Regions from separate parts of the Homo sapiens genome. Here all the other regions are linked to region 3. The links are contacts of gene promoters, found by promoter capture Hi-C in blood cells and fetal thymus (Javierre and others, 2016). All regions are on one chromosome and are shown on one strand. The core of a region is centred on a gene start or on the middle of the fragment in contact, and the rest is flanking DNA. Distances in the headings are between cores, read along the strand shown. Region 1 overlaps MCPH1 (microcephalin 1). Region 2 overlaps MCPH1-AS1 (MCPH1 antisense RNA 1). Region 3 holds the start of ANGPT2 (angiopoietin 2).

Region 1 (3,727 bases), core at 780-3,279, 120 kb after region 3:
CCTTCCCTGTCTTCCAGTAAAGTCCTCGTATTACACTGATATTCAAAAGTGAGCCATTTGGTAGGCTTTAATGTTTCAACTCTTATATGGATTACTCATTTCCTGAGAGTAATGCTAAGCTGCTGCTACCTCCTAAATATTCTATACTCCTCTGTACCCTCTGGGCCTTCCCCTTTCCTCCACACTTTATTCTGGGTAAATACAATTCATCCTTCCAAACCCACCTGGGTTGTCAACATCCCTGGGACCCTCCCACTGCCCTTGCCAGCTCTCCCTGGCCTTGCCCCCTCTGCTACACACCATCATGCATCATACTGCCCCATGGTTACGTGGGCATCTGCCCGTCACTGTGCTATAAGCTACTGGAATGAATATGAAGAAGTCTCTAGTCCCGTGCTGGCTCCCTCAATAGGGGCTCAGCACTTGCTGGTGGAGGGCCTGTGTTTTGTAGAAATCACTCAATCTGGAGGTCACGTAAGTGTTAGAACTCTCTGTCTGAAATCACTGAAGTTCTACTTTAAAAAGGAAGAACACAGGTAACCACCAAAGCTTCCCTTCCAACTGTGCCCCAGGTGTCTTCAAGGCAGTAGTTGGAAATAAGGTCACTTTTAATTTTAGATGCTCAATATATCTTATTCAGCACCTAAAATTGTTTTATGTTTTATCACACTTTTCAAAAACCCGATAAGCAATGTGACATGTCACTAAGAGTGTAATCTGTGATGTCAGACTGCCTAAGTTAGAAGCTTGGGTTTGCCATTCACAAACCACATGACCTTGGACAAGCTGTTTGACCTCTGTGTCCTGGTTTTTCACTGGCAAAATGGGATGGTGATGGAACCTACCTCTTAAGGCTAATGGGAGAATAAATGAGATAACAGTGAATAAGACACTTAGAGGAGTGCCTACAACAACAAAAATGAAATCAATGTTAGCTATTATTATCACTTGTTTCCAACTTCTAGGAAATAAATGTAACAAGTGTAAAATAAAAAGATGGAGACTGTTTAAGAGAAATGGGTAAATAATTCCAGCACACAGAGGTGAGAGTACAAGGATTAACCCTGCGCTGAAAGGAGGCTTTGTTTGAAACTTCTAATATCTTGATGCCATCTTGCGCTTTGTCATTGCTGTGGCTTTCATGATAAATTTTCCATAACATCTCAAGCACTTTTGAACATAGTACTTTCAGGGATCACTGCTACTTACTTGAGCCCCACTGGGGACTAGGTGAAGAAACTGTAAGAAATTTGGTACGAAGAAGATATGACCATGAAAAATTACCATCCTAAGTGGAACTAGGGCTCCCACATTACAAACATGTATGTGCGTAACATGGAACTAACTGCACTAATTCCTACCAGTGTTCTTTCTGCTTCTAATTAGAAATCCTCTATTTATCTCCTCAATTGACGATCTTTACATACTTCACTGACCCCGTTCAATAACAGGTTCCTTGTGTTAATTATACATTGTGTGAAACAACATTTCCTTAGCTCTGACCTCAGTTCTATGTAGTTTAAACTGCATACAGATTAGTTCATATACGTTCACAATAATTTTTTAAATAGAGCAATGGATTCTGTAGCAAGAAAGCAAATGCCTAGGAAAAAAAACCTATAGGAACCAAAAAGGAAGTTTAACTCATGCCTTAATTTTATTATAATACCTAATTTCAGGGGGAAATTTAGAAGTTCTAGTTTTAACTAATTATTTTACTCATCAGAAGTTGCTACATGAAATTCTAAATCAGAAAATCATATTATTCTCAAAACTTAAACATATCACAGAAAGGAAAATAAAAATTTTACCTGAACACAAAGTATCACGTGAAATGTTCAAAGGTGCTTCACACAGAGAGTTACTTGGATTATCATGAGACTGCTGAATCATTTGGGAAGCTAAAAACAGGACCAAGACACTGCATTAGATAAAGTTTCAGTATTTCTTAGCAGATGAAGCCAGCAGGAAGTCCTCCTATTAATCATAGGTGATTCTATTAAATCCTATAATCACAAAGTTAGAAGGGATCTTAAAGTCAACTTGCCTGAATCTAATCAGAAGCTCAACAGAATTAAGTGAACATTTCCAGTCTGTTCTAGTCTTCTTATTTGATAATCATGGATTTTTCTTCAAGGATGCTCATCATAGTTACCTCTAAAACTAGAGCACTGCTTCCCAACCAGAGGTGACGTTGGGGTCCCAGCAGATATTTGGTAATGTCTGGACACATTTTTGGATATCGCCAGTGAGGGAGAGCAGTAGGTACACTGCTAGTGTTAGTGGGGAGAGGCAGGGATGCTGCTGAGCTTCCTACCACACACAGGGCAGTGCCCCCAACAAAGAATTACCCAGACCCAAATGTCAGCTGTGCTGGGTTGAGAAATCCTAGAGGTTTCATAGAAAACACTTAGGATGTCAATGACTTAACAAATAAGATCGTAAGTATTATCTTCAAAGGCGGTTCATACAATAGTCAAGAAACAAAAGAAATGTTTGGATCTTATATCCAAAGATATTTTTTAGAGACTCAAAAGGATACTTTTCTGAGAAAACTTCAGCAAAAAAAGAGAATAAACCAAGATAAGGAAGGGAAGCACACATAAAATTTTCAGTTAAGTTTTAAACTGTACTGGACGCAGTAAAGTAGCAGAATTAACACTGCCAAGTAATAGAAAAAGTAAAGTTTAAGGCAAATTAGTTTATACACATAATTGCACACTGAAACAATTTGGATGTCCACCTGGGACACAGCTAGTTATCTACCTCAATGTCCATTCTCACTTCTTCTTAACAACAGAACTTTGATTTTATCAGGACAGCAATGCATCCCAGTCAAGACTACATTTCAGTCTTGCTTGCAAAAGGGGTGGCCATATGACCACATTCCAGCCAATGGAATTAGACAGGAATATTGGATAGACGTCTGGTAAGGCTGTCAAAAGGAGATGGCTTAGCTGGGAGGCACACACATTTTGCAAGAAAAGCCAGGCAGGTACAACAGAAAGATGGGAACCTAGTTTCTTAAAGACACCATGGAATGGCATCCCAGCCCTGGCTGCCTACTTCTGAACTAGGCAAGACAGAGAAAGGCAATTCTATCGATTGTAACACATTGGTTTTTGTCTTTGTTATATGCAGCCGAAACTAACCTTAACTGATACATATGGACAAAGGACATAAAATTAAGCGAGGTAATAGTTGATCACATTAAAAGCTGCATTCGGTAAGTCAGTCAGTAATATGAAAAGGCACTTAAACCTGCTTCTAATCAAAAGTAACTTCAAGAACAGATCCAGTTTTTCAAGCTTCCGACTGAAAAAGGCTACAGGCTAATGCCATTCAGTTTTCCAAGTATGGAGAAAGGGGCATTCTTATAAACAACTGGTGACAATAAGATGACTCAAATTTTTTGAAGGATAATTTGACTATATCTATCAATAAGCCAGGGATCGTGGCACACACCTGTATTCCTAGCTACTTGAGAGGGTGAGGCAGAAGTACTTGAGCCCAGGAGTGCATGTCCTGCCTGCGCAACACAGGGAGACTCTATGTCTTTAAAAAATCAAATTCTGCATGTATGAATTAGTATTATTGAAATACACGAAGTACTCAGAAATACAAGGATTCACGTAGGCACATGCAGGGGTTATAACAGTAAAAAGTCGGGGTGGGAAGCTGGAAAGACTTATGTCTAGAGAAAGGAAAATGGCTTAACAAAAAAACA
Region 2 (4,231 bases), core at 33-2,532, 100 kb before region 3:
TTTTCTCTTGTCTCTGTCATGCCTGTCTTGATTGATTTTGATTCTACTCCCAGGAATTTCTCCTCGGGGTAGGGCCCTGGCCCAGACAGGCACTCAGATGGGTCAGTTTTGAGAGTTCATGGGAGATAGAGAGCTCCAGACTCTTGGGCCCTTCCAGCTGTGGGTCCCTTGCTCTCGATTATATGCAGTTGCATTGGGCAAAACCCAAGCGCTTTCGTCCAGTTGGCCCTGCTGGGCTTCCTGGTAATACAGAGCAAAAGATGGAGAATAACCTTGAGCTGTGTGGTATTCTGCTGTTCCCAGAGCTGTCTGCTGCTGCCTGGAGTTTCCTTCTTCCACCCATGCAGAACCTGGAACCTCATGGGGCTCGTGGCTGGCAGTAATTTGCCCCTTGTAAGGAGCTCATAAGGTGCCCTTGGCTTAGGTTTGCTACCCAGGCCATCTATTTTTATGTGGGGACCTAAAACGTTTTAAACAATATTAAATTCTAAGTTTAAAAAATTTTTTCTGTAAGTTCTATCTGCCTCCTTTTCAATTCCATCTTATCATTCTTGTTCCGTTCTCATGGTTTTCCGTCCTTTTATTTCTTTTAACATGTATCATCCGTATCTGATGACGCCAACACCTGAAGTCTTGGTCTATCTGGTCCTGTTATTTTTCCTAATGATTGTCTTGATGATTTATTTGGAATTGTGTGTGTGCACGCATTCTAATTGATGGTCATATTGGTGGGAATCATCAGAAGCCCAGGTTCAGGGACATTATTCCTGGAAGTTGTGTGTCTGCTTCTTCCAGGTGCCTAAGGATGTTGCTGACAAAGGATGTTGCTTTGTGTTTGCCTTTGTGCAGATGTTATCCTTCTCCCTTCTTAACTTTCTTCCTGGGAGTCTAACCCTTCCAGAGTGTCAGCTTTATCAGGTTGGTCTCCATTCCAACTCCCCTGTCCCGGCCCACCTCCCATACACACACACATGAATGCACATATACACACATGCACACACACGCAGATGCACACACGCCCTGTGTATACACAATGCTCGGTCAACATGATGTTCCCCAGCTTGGATGTCAACCTGCTTCTCCACCTTGTCTCCAGTGGTAGAGCGTTTCTCTACCTTTCTTGCAAATTCCCTACCATTCACTCTGCATTTTCAGGGGTCCATTATAATGTTCATTATATTGCTGCAAACATAAGTCACTGATTTACTTTCTTGGATAACACAAATGGCTCAGTTTAGAAGTCTGATGATTACATTCTAGAATGTTTAATATGCCTAAAATGTGGTTATAAAGTGGTGGGCTTTGCCTTTAATTGGCCCTCCAACATTTCTCTGTTGAACACCTTTAGCAACAAGAACTTGGCTTCTTTGTGTCCATGGAGGGCACGCTCTGGGCCGGCTGAAGCACCAAGCACCTTTTCCCTTTAGCTGAAGGAGCTGGTTCCCGTGAGGATGTGGATCCTCCCAAGACTGCTGACACTTTATGCCTGAGTCCAAGACTCATCCAGATTGACTCTGTCCCCCTGCTCCTCCTGCGTAGCCACTCAGGCAGCAAATAATTTCATTTCCAAAATTTCATTTCTAATCCACCTCCTCCTTTCCCTCTCTGTGAGCACTGTGTTCTGCGCCTTAACATTTCTTGTCTGGAAAATTTCAATAGCCTTTCTTAACTACCCAACGCTTATATCTCACTTGCGTCCCCTCAACGTGCCCTTCCACTGGAAGTTCCAGCAATCCTGAGGCCCTCAGACCTCCCCTCACCTTCGGGACTGGCACGGGCCTCTCCCTTGGTCTCTTTTCCACTCGGAACTCCTATGCTTCCTTTGAAACCTATGTTAGAGAGTCAGGCATGGTGGCATGCACCTGTAGTTGCAGCCACTCAGGAGGCTGAGGGAGGAGGATCGCTTGAGTGCAGGAATTCAGGGCTGCAGTGAGCTATGACCATGCCTCTGAATAGCCACTGCACTGCAGCCTGTGCAACGCAGTGAGACCCCACCTAAAAAAAAAGAAAACTCACCTAAGTTAGATGTCAGTTTCTTCTGGAAGTATTTCCCAAGCTCTTTTCCTTTCCGTTTAAAAGCAATCACCCTTTCTCAAAGTTGTCGCTCTCCCTGGTCTGCAGTGAACTTATCACACTGTGTTGTCATTTGTTTTCCAGCCTCATCCCCCTTCAAGGCTGTCAGCTCGCTGAGATAGGTGCTGTATCTTCATTATTTCTGGCCCTTGGAGCCTGTACAGTCATTGATACAGAAGAGCTGCCCAATAGAGTTCTTACAAATTTTGGCTATTTCTGTTTGGTGTGAATCAAACTCCAGCACTTGTTGGAAGGTGAGTGGAGGCAGGGAGAGGGCACCACAAGCCCTGTGAATCCAGGGTAGGAAAAGCAGGTGGAGATGAGGCCTTCAATAGATGAAGCTGCAAAGTTACTGCTTTGAACAGAAATGTGGAAAAGATCCTCATATCTTAAAAATAGTATCCCTTTGCTTCTGGTGACAGGCTAACTTCGGTGGGTCCATCAGCATTAGGGACCATGGGGGTCATTTCACCAAATCTCTTTGCTCCTTTGTTGAAGAAGTTAAACTCCTCAAGCTCAGATATGTTATGTGCTTAAAGTCTAATTTGGGCTCCAAGGATATTATAAAGTAGCCCCTGAATCTAATAAATCTTTAAAAAGGGGTGGTGTGGGAATTGCTCAAGAAAAGCAAAGTGCCGAAGAGTTAAAAATATCAGAATTCCTCCGTAAGTCTCTAACCGCTGCTCCACAATCTCTTCTGGGCTCTGAAGCCACAAGATGAGGTGACAGTCTTTTCCTCACCCCTAAAAAGGAGGTCAGTTTTGAGCCCGTTACCTCCTACTGTGCCATCAGCCCTTTCCCCACACAGCATCCCCAGTTGTTTTTGGAAGGAACCTTGTGGCATCGTGTGAGTCACAGCCCTGCGGCTCCTACCATCACAGCCTCACACACTCAGGACAAAGAGTCCTTCTCTTTTCTGTGACCAGTTCCCAATAAGTTCATGGTCGGGTTTCTCGCCATTGGTTGAGTACATTATCTGGCTGATAACTGGCTCTTGGTGCCAAGCTCTGAGGTCTGGCAGTGTCTCCCTTCCCGCCCTCCCAGGGCCCCTGGGGCGGCCGTGGGCCGACGGAGCTGCTGCTGTTGCCCGTTGTTCTCATCTCGCTGTTGACAGACAACAGCCCTAGAGAGCCCAGGATGGCGTTCCTCCCCTCGAGTGCTCCCTCCTCAGCGTTGGCTGAGGTTTCATTGGCTGGCTCACGGGAGACAATACTGAATTAGCTTTTTCAGTAAATCGTCTATCTGGAATATTAAAGATGGAACAACTATGAGTTCCCATAGATAAGCTGTAATCCAAATATTAAAAAAATTGAAACCAGATTAATGAAATTGACAGCTGCCGCCAGTATCTTAGAGTTCTAGGTGGAGTTTGGTCCCTGCAAGGTCCTGAGGCTTTGGGAAAATATTAACGCTTAGACTGGGAACTCATACCAAACAAAATAATAGTTTAGCCTGAAGAATGTTTGTATGATCTTGTGTAGTTTCAGGTCAATAATTCTAATTACTGTCTCCATTAAGGGGTTAAATATTAGAGGGATAAAAGTAGATATTGTCTTCCTGACACAAAAATTTATAGTTTTAAATAAAGTAGTAGAATTAGAATTGAGAACACTGAACAAAACAGTTTAATTACAACCACAGGTAACTTTAAAATAGGCAAATTCCAGCCTTACATTATGGTCAATTAAGTATTTGTCAAACAGACACAATAATGATAAGTTCTCTATTCTTTCCTTGTTGTTTGAATTGTTTGGAGTCAGGCCTGTTGGCTATGCACTTCTTAATCTGTGCTGGGGGTTCCTACCAGTCAGTGTCTGATTCGTGTCTTTGAGTCAGCATAACTCACTGAATACTGCAAACCGAGATGCCTTTGCTTCTTCCCCCTTTCAGAAGGGCGTCGACTCCCTGGCCATCATCCTGTGCTCTCAGGCACCAGACAGGGATTATTGTGAAAATTGCCAGTTGAAGAAACCCTGGCTCTGAGAAGACAAATGCCTTATCTGAGGTTTCAGGCTGGGTGCCAGTGAGAACCCATGGTCAGTGCATCCGTCCTGGATTTAGTGTGAGGCAATCAGGGGCCAGTGTTGGCAGCAGAGTAAGGTCTCCTCAAAGATGTTCTAATCTGAAAATCTGTCAATATGTTTCCTTCCATGGCCGG
Region 3 (4,134 bases), core at 136-2,635:
TCAGCGCTCACTGGGAATAATAAACCTTGTACCTTGAGAGATAAACCGCAGCAAAGGCAGGGGGCTTTTTCCCTATGTACACTTGGGCTGCTGAGTTAACATATTATTAATCTCTGAAGTATTAAGTTTTAGTTGTTAAAGGAAGTGACTTGCAGAACTTACAGAGCCATAGGATTGAAGGTGAAAAATCTTGTGAGTGCACCCCTTGAATTGCACAGATGAGGACATTAGAGCTTAATTAAAACAGGGAAGTGACTTGCCCGAGTCTAATACCAAGGGGGACTAATGTAATTGATAATGTGTTACAAAATGCTGAGATGTCAACAAATTCTGACACAATAAAGAAGTTTGTGGGCCAGGCATGGTGACTCACACCTGTAATCTCAGCACTTTGGGAGGCCAAAGGCGAGTCGATCACAAGGTCATGAGTTTGAGACCAGCCTAACATGGTGAAACCCTGTCTCTACTAAAAATACAAAAATTAGCCGGGTGTGGTGGCGTTTGCCTGTAATCCCAGCTGCTCAGGAGCCTGAGGCAAGAGAATCACTTGAACCCGGAAGGCGGAGGTTGCAGTGAGCCAACATTGCCCCACTGCACTCTAGCCTGGTCGACAGAGCGAGACTCCGTCTCAAAAAAAAAAAAAAAAAAAAAAAGTTTGTATTCCTCTTTCTACACAGGCACTTAAATTCTAATTTCTCTATTGTAATGTAATGAACTTAATCAGTACAGTGTATTTTTAGAGTGAATATCCAAGTGGAGTTTTTTTAAAGAATAAAGGTCAGAGCTCAGAAACTGATGTTTCTAACGTGACTTAATAACAGATCTTTCTATCCAACTGTTCGGAAATGAAAATCTTTTGTAACTTGGCTAGTGGTTCAAGAATCAACTAAAATCAATGAATCTATTTTTCCCTCTGAAAAGGCACACGTTTACAGGAGCCAAACTTCTTCCTCTTTATTTGTAATAACAAAAATAAACCGAAGTCCTGACCTATTTGTAATATTTTTATTCCTAAAGGAAAAAACAGGAACTTTCATTGTACTTCAACATTAAAGTTATTACCTCAGATATTTTGCCAGCTTAGCACGGCAAAAATCAGTTTCAGACAAAAGAGATCAACTGCTCTCTCTAGGAAATACTTAATTGGGGTGGTGCCTAGGAAATGCCCAGGGGTCCTGTAACAGATCGGTTTTTCCCAGAGGGTTTCTGCAGCATGGGTCCTGGTTGGAGGGCAGGCATTCTGCTCTGATTTTTCCTGTTGCCTGGCTAGTGACCCCCTACAGGAAGATAACGGCTAAGCCAGGAGGGCGGAGCAGCCCACTACACATGTCTGGCTGCTCTTATCAACTTATCATATAAGGAAAGGAAAGTGATTGATTCGGATACTGACACTGTAGGATCTGGGGAGAGAGGAACAAAGGACCGTGAAAGCTGCTCTGTAAAAGCTGACACAGCCCTCCCAAGTGAGCAGGACTGTTCTTCCCACTGCAATCTGACAGTTTACTGCATGCCTGGAGAGAACACAGCAGTAAAAACCAGGTTTGCTACTGGAAAAAGAGGAAAGAGAAGACTTTCATTGACGGACCCAGCCATGGCAGCGTAGCAGCCCTGCGTTTTAGACGGCAGCAGCTCGGGACTCTGGACGTGTGTTTGCCCTCAAGTTTGCTAAGCTGCTGGTTTATTACTGAAGAAAGAATGTGGCAGATTGTTTTCTTTACTCTGAGCTGTGATCTTGTCTTGGCCGCAGCCTATAACAACTTTCGGAAGAGCATGGACAGCATAGGAAAGAAGCAATATCAGGTCCAGCATGGGTCCTGCAGCTACACTTTCCTCCTGCCAGAGATGGACAACTGCCGCTCTTCCTCCAGCCCCTACGTGTCCAATGCTGTGCAGAGGGACGCGCCGCTCGAATACGATGACTCGGTGCAGAGGCTGCAAGTGCTGGAGAACATCATGGAAAACAACACTCAGTGGCTAATGAAGGTAGGAAAAAAATCCATCTGTCTTTGTGAACATGCTATTAAGATCAGCTTGGCAGCAGCTCAGGTTTTAACAACCAAAAAAAAAAAAAAAAAAAGAAGGAGGATGAAGAGGATTAGAGCTGGAGAGCGGGTTGCTGGTACCCTCAAATGAAAGATAATTTCTTTTATTCTATCCCAGGGTGTGTGGGTAGTCCCCGGGGTGAAAATAATTATTTGGAAAGAATGCCAGAGTCAATACAGAAAATCTCTAAAGTTAGAAATCTTTATTAACAAGGTAGAGGAAATATACTTCCCTGCACAACTTGTGTGCCGTTCTGTTTGTTTACATCGTTTAAGCTCAGTAACACCCATCACCAGGGAGGCTCTCAGCTGGTTGCAGGCAAGTGAGGGAAGGCTGTGAGCCGCAGCAGCCCGTGAGCCAGAGAGACCGTGACAACCATGCTGATGACCGAGGCATAACGGATGGAGTAAAGTGCTTTACCAATTTCCTGAATTTATTTACTAAAATAGGTTGTGACTCTTGGTAAACGAGAGGAAATTAAATAAAGCAGACCTTATGTTTCTCAGAATCTCAGGGCCCTACCACTAAGGGCTTGCCGTCTGTAAACAGGGGCACAGTTCCCAAGCGTCCCAGAGGTATTCAGCACTGCAGCCCCCGTCAGTTCCAGCAACCGGTGCGGAATGCGTCCCCACGTGGGACGGTTATGTTCAAGTCATGCCACGACAGGACGGTCTGTCTGACAGTTTGTTCTTGGGGTGATTCCACTGTTTCACAGATGATCCCACTGTTTCCTAGAGTTTTTATGGAGACGTAACCAAAATAGGATATTGAAAGCTCTGTTTTTCTTTCATAAATAATTTTTTTTCACATGTAAACATGGGAGCTATTTATACAAAATCCAAAACGAACCTGGAATTTTCTTTATATGGACTATATATATTCTAAAGGAAGTTTAAACAAAATGCATAAATTAATTGTTAAGTAGCATGATGATGCCATTACATCACAATGCTTACATGGCAGGGAATGTGATTATCTAAAGCTATGTAAAGTCTTTTAAAAGTTGGTGAGCCTCATTTGACGCATGACCCTAGAAAAAGCACAATTATTTTCTCACTCTTTCATTTCACCATAAACCTTTTGTTAGGACACCTTATCTGAATCTCAGAACGGATCTTGGAGCCTAATCGGTGCTCCTCATTACCTCCCCTACCTTCAGAGAGGAAACGACTAAGTTATTATTTGAGTCATGAGCTTAAATGAATGAATGTGAATGAATGTTCCCAGCACCACTGGTTACTGTGTCAAGAGGAGTCATTTAAAACAACAAAAACTTACCAAAATGACCTATCAAATGTAGATTTCATGTGACATAAAACTCACTAGCAATGTCTTTTTAAGCTCCTGGCTAAGCGCTCCAGTAAGTTTCCCTCCTTTCCCAGGTCACTGTGGTTTGCTTTTAAACATCTTCTAAAATTCATAGCTGTGTGAATAATTACGCTAAGCTTAAAAAGTATGCAGCAACACAGGTTGAAATATGTGGAAGGCAAACTATATCCTAAATATCTGCTTAACTTGAACTTCCTATTTCTTTGTAAACCGTCAAGCTGATGGTTAATGGCTTTCCCACATCCACCGTGGTTACAGAGTCACAGCGAGGCATGAAAGATGCACTGCAGTAAATATTCTAATCTGCCCGACAGGCAGGTCATCTCCTCGAAGAAACAGCCAGGAAACATAAAAGAATGCTAGGCCAAATGCAAGGCTGCTACATTGTATTTGCTTAATTAACTTACATTAGGTATACCTGAAACTCCATAAGCAAAGCTCATATTTCTTTCTTAGGTAAACTACCCCTTCTCTTGGGTCTTTGAGATAACATTTAAAGACAGAAAAAGACAACGAGTTCTATGTTAGGCGACCAAAATTTCTTCCTTTCCAGGTTCACTTAGTCAATATTTGAACAGCAGTAGCACAATGGTATTTCAAAAGTCCGTCTTCAGCTGTCTAGCTAAATACCGTTTCCCCAAGAATGACTTAATGTTTATCTTTTCACGGGCTCCACACCTGTTCTCCCAGCCTATCTCAGCAACGTGCACCTGAGAAAGGCAATTTGCACTCTCGCTCGGTTTACGGCTTCTGGCTTGGGAA

What was found. The method cuts DNA at HindIII sites, captures the fragments that hold promoters and counts their contacts. A CHiCAGO score of 5 or more calls a contact.
Region 1: a fragment that was not itself captured here is called in contact with the fragment with the promoter of ANGPT2 in region 3 in 12 of 17 cell types (naive B cells, total B cells, fetal thymus and 9 more); the score reaches 22.5 in naive B cells.
Region 2: a fragment that was not itself captured here is called in contact with the fragment with the promoter of ANGPT2 in region 3 in 5 of 17 cell types (naive B cells, total B cells, endothelial precursors and 2 more); the score reaches 9.6 in naive B cells.

Annotation. Positions count from the first base shown.
Region 1 is chr8:6,440,241-6,443,967 of GRCh38, reverse strand. It overlaps MCPH1 (microcephalin 1), which reads right to left. Exons shown (of 14, transcript NM_024596.5): 7 at 1,812-1,901. Among named protein-coding and RNA genes, the nearest start is that of MCPH1, 35 kb to the right of the region's middle. The HindIII fragment of the contact is 2,562 bases long and covers 749-3,310 here.
Region 2 is chr8:6,660,502-6,664,732 of GRCh38, reverse strand. The region is part of intron 1 of MCPH1-AS1 (MCPH1 antisense RNA 1); the gene reads left to right. Among named protein-coding and RNA genes, the nearest start is that of MIR8055, 40 kb to the right of the region's middle. The HindIII fragment of the contact is 8,157 bases long and covers 1-4,231 here.
Region 3 is chr8:6,560,496-6,564,629 of GRCh38, reverse strand. ANGPT2 (angiopoietin 2) reads left to right here and starts at 1,385. Exons shown (of 9, transcript NM_001118887.2): 1 at 1,385-1,983. The coding sequence starts at 1,696. The region is part of intron 12 of MCPH1 (microcephalin 1); the gene reads right to left. RefSeq lists enhancers at 1,516-2,042, 2,043-2,568 and a silencer at 3,428-3,722. The HindIII fragment of the contact is 4,979 bases long and covers 1-3,490 here.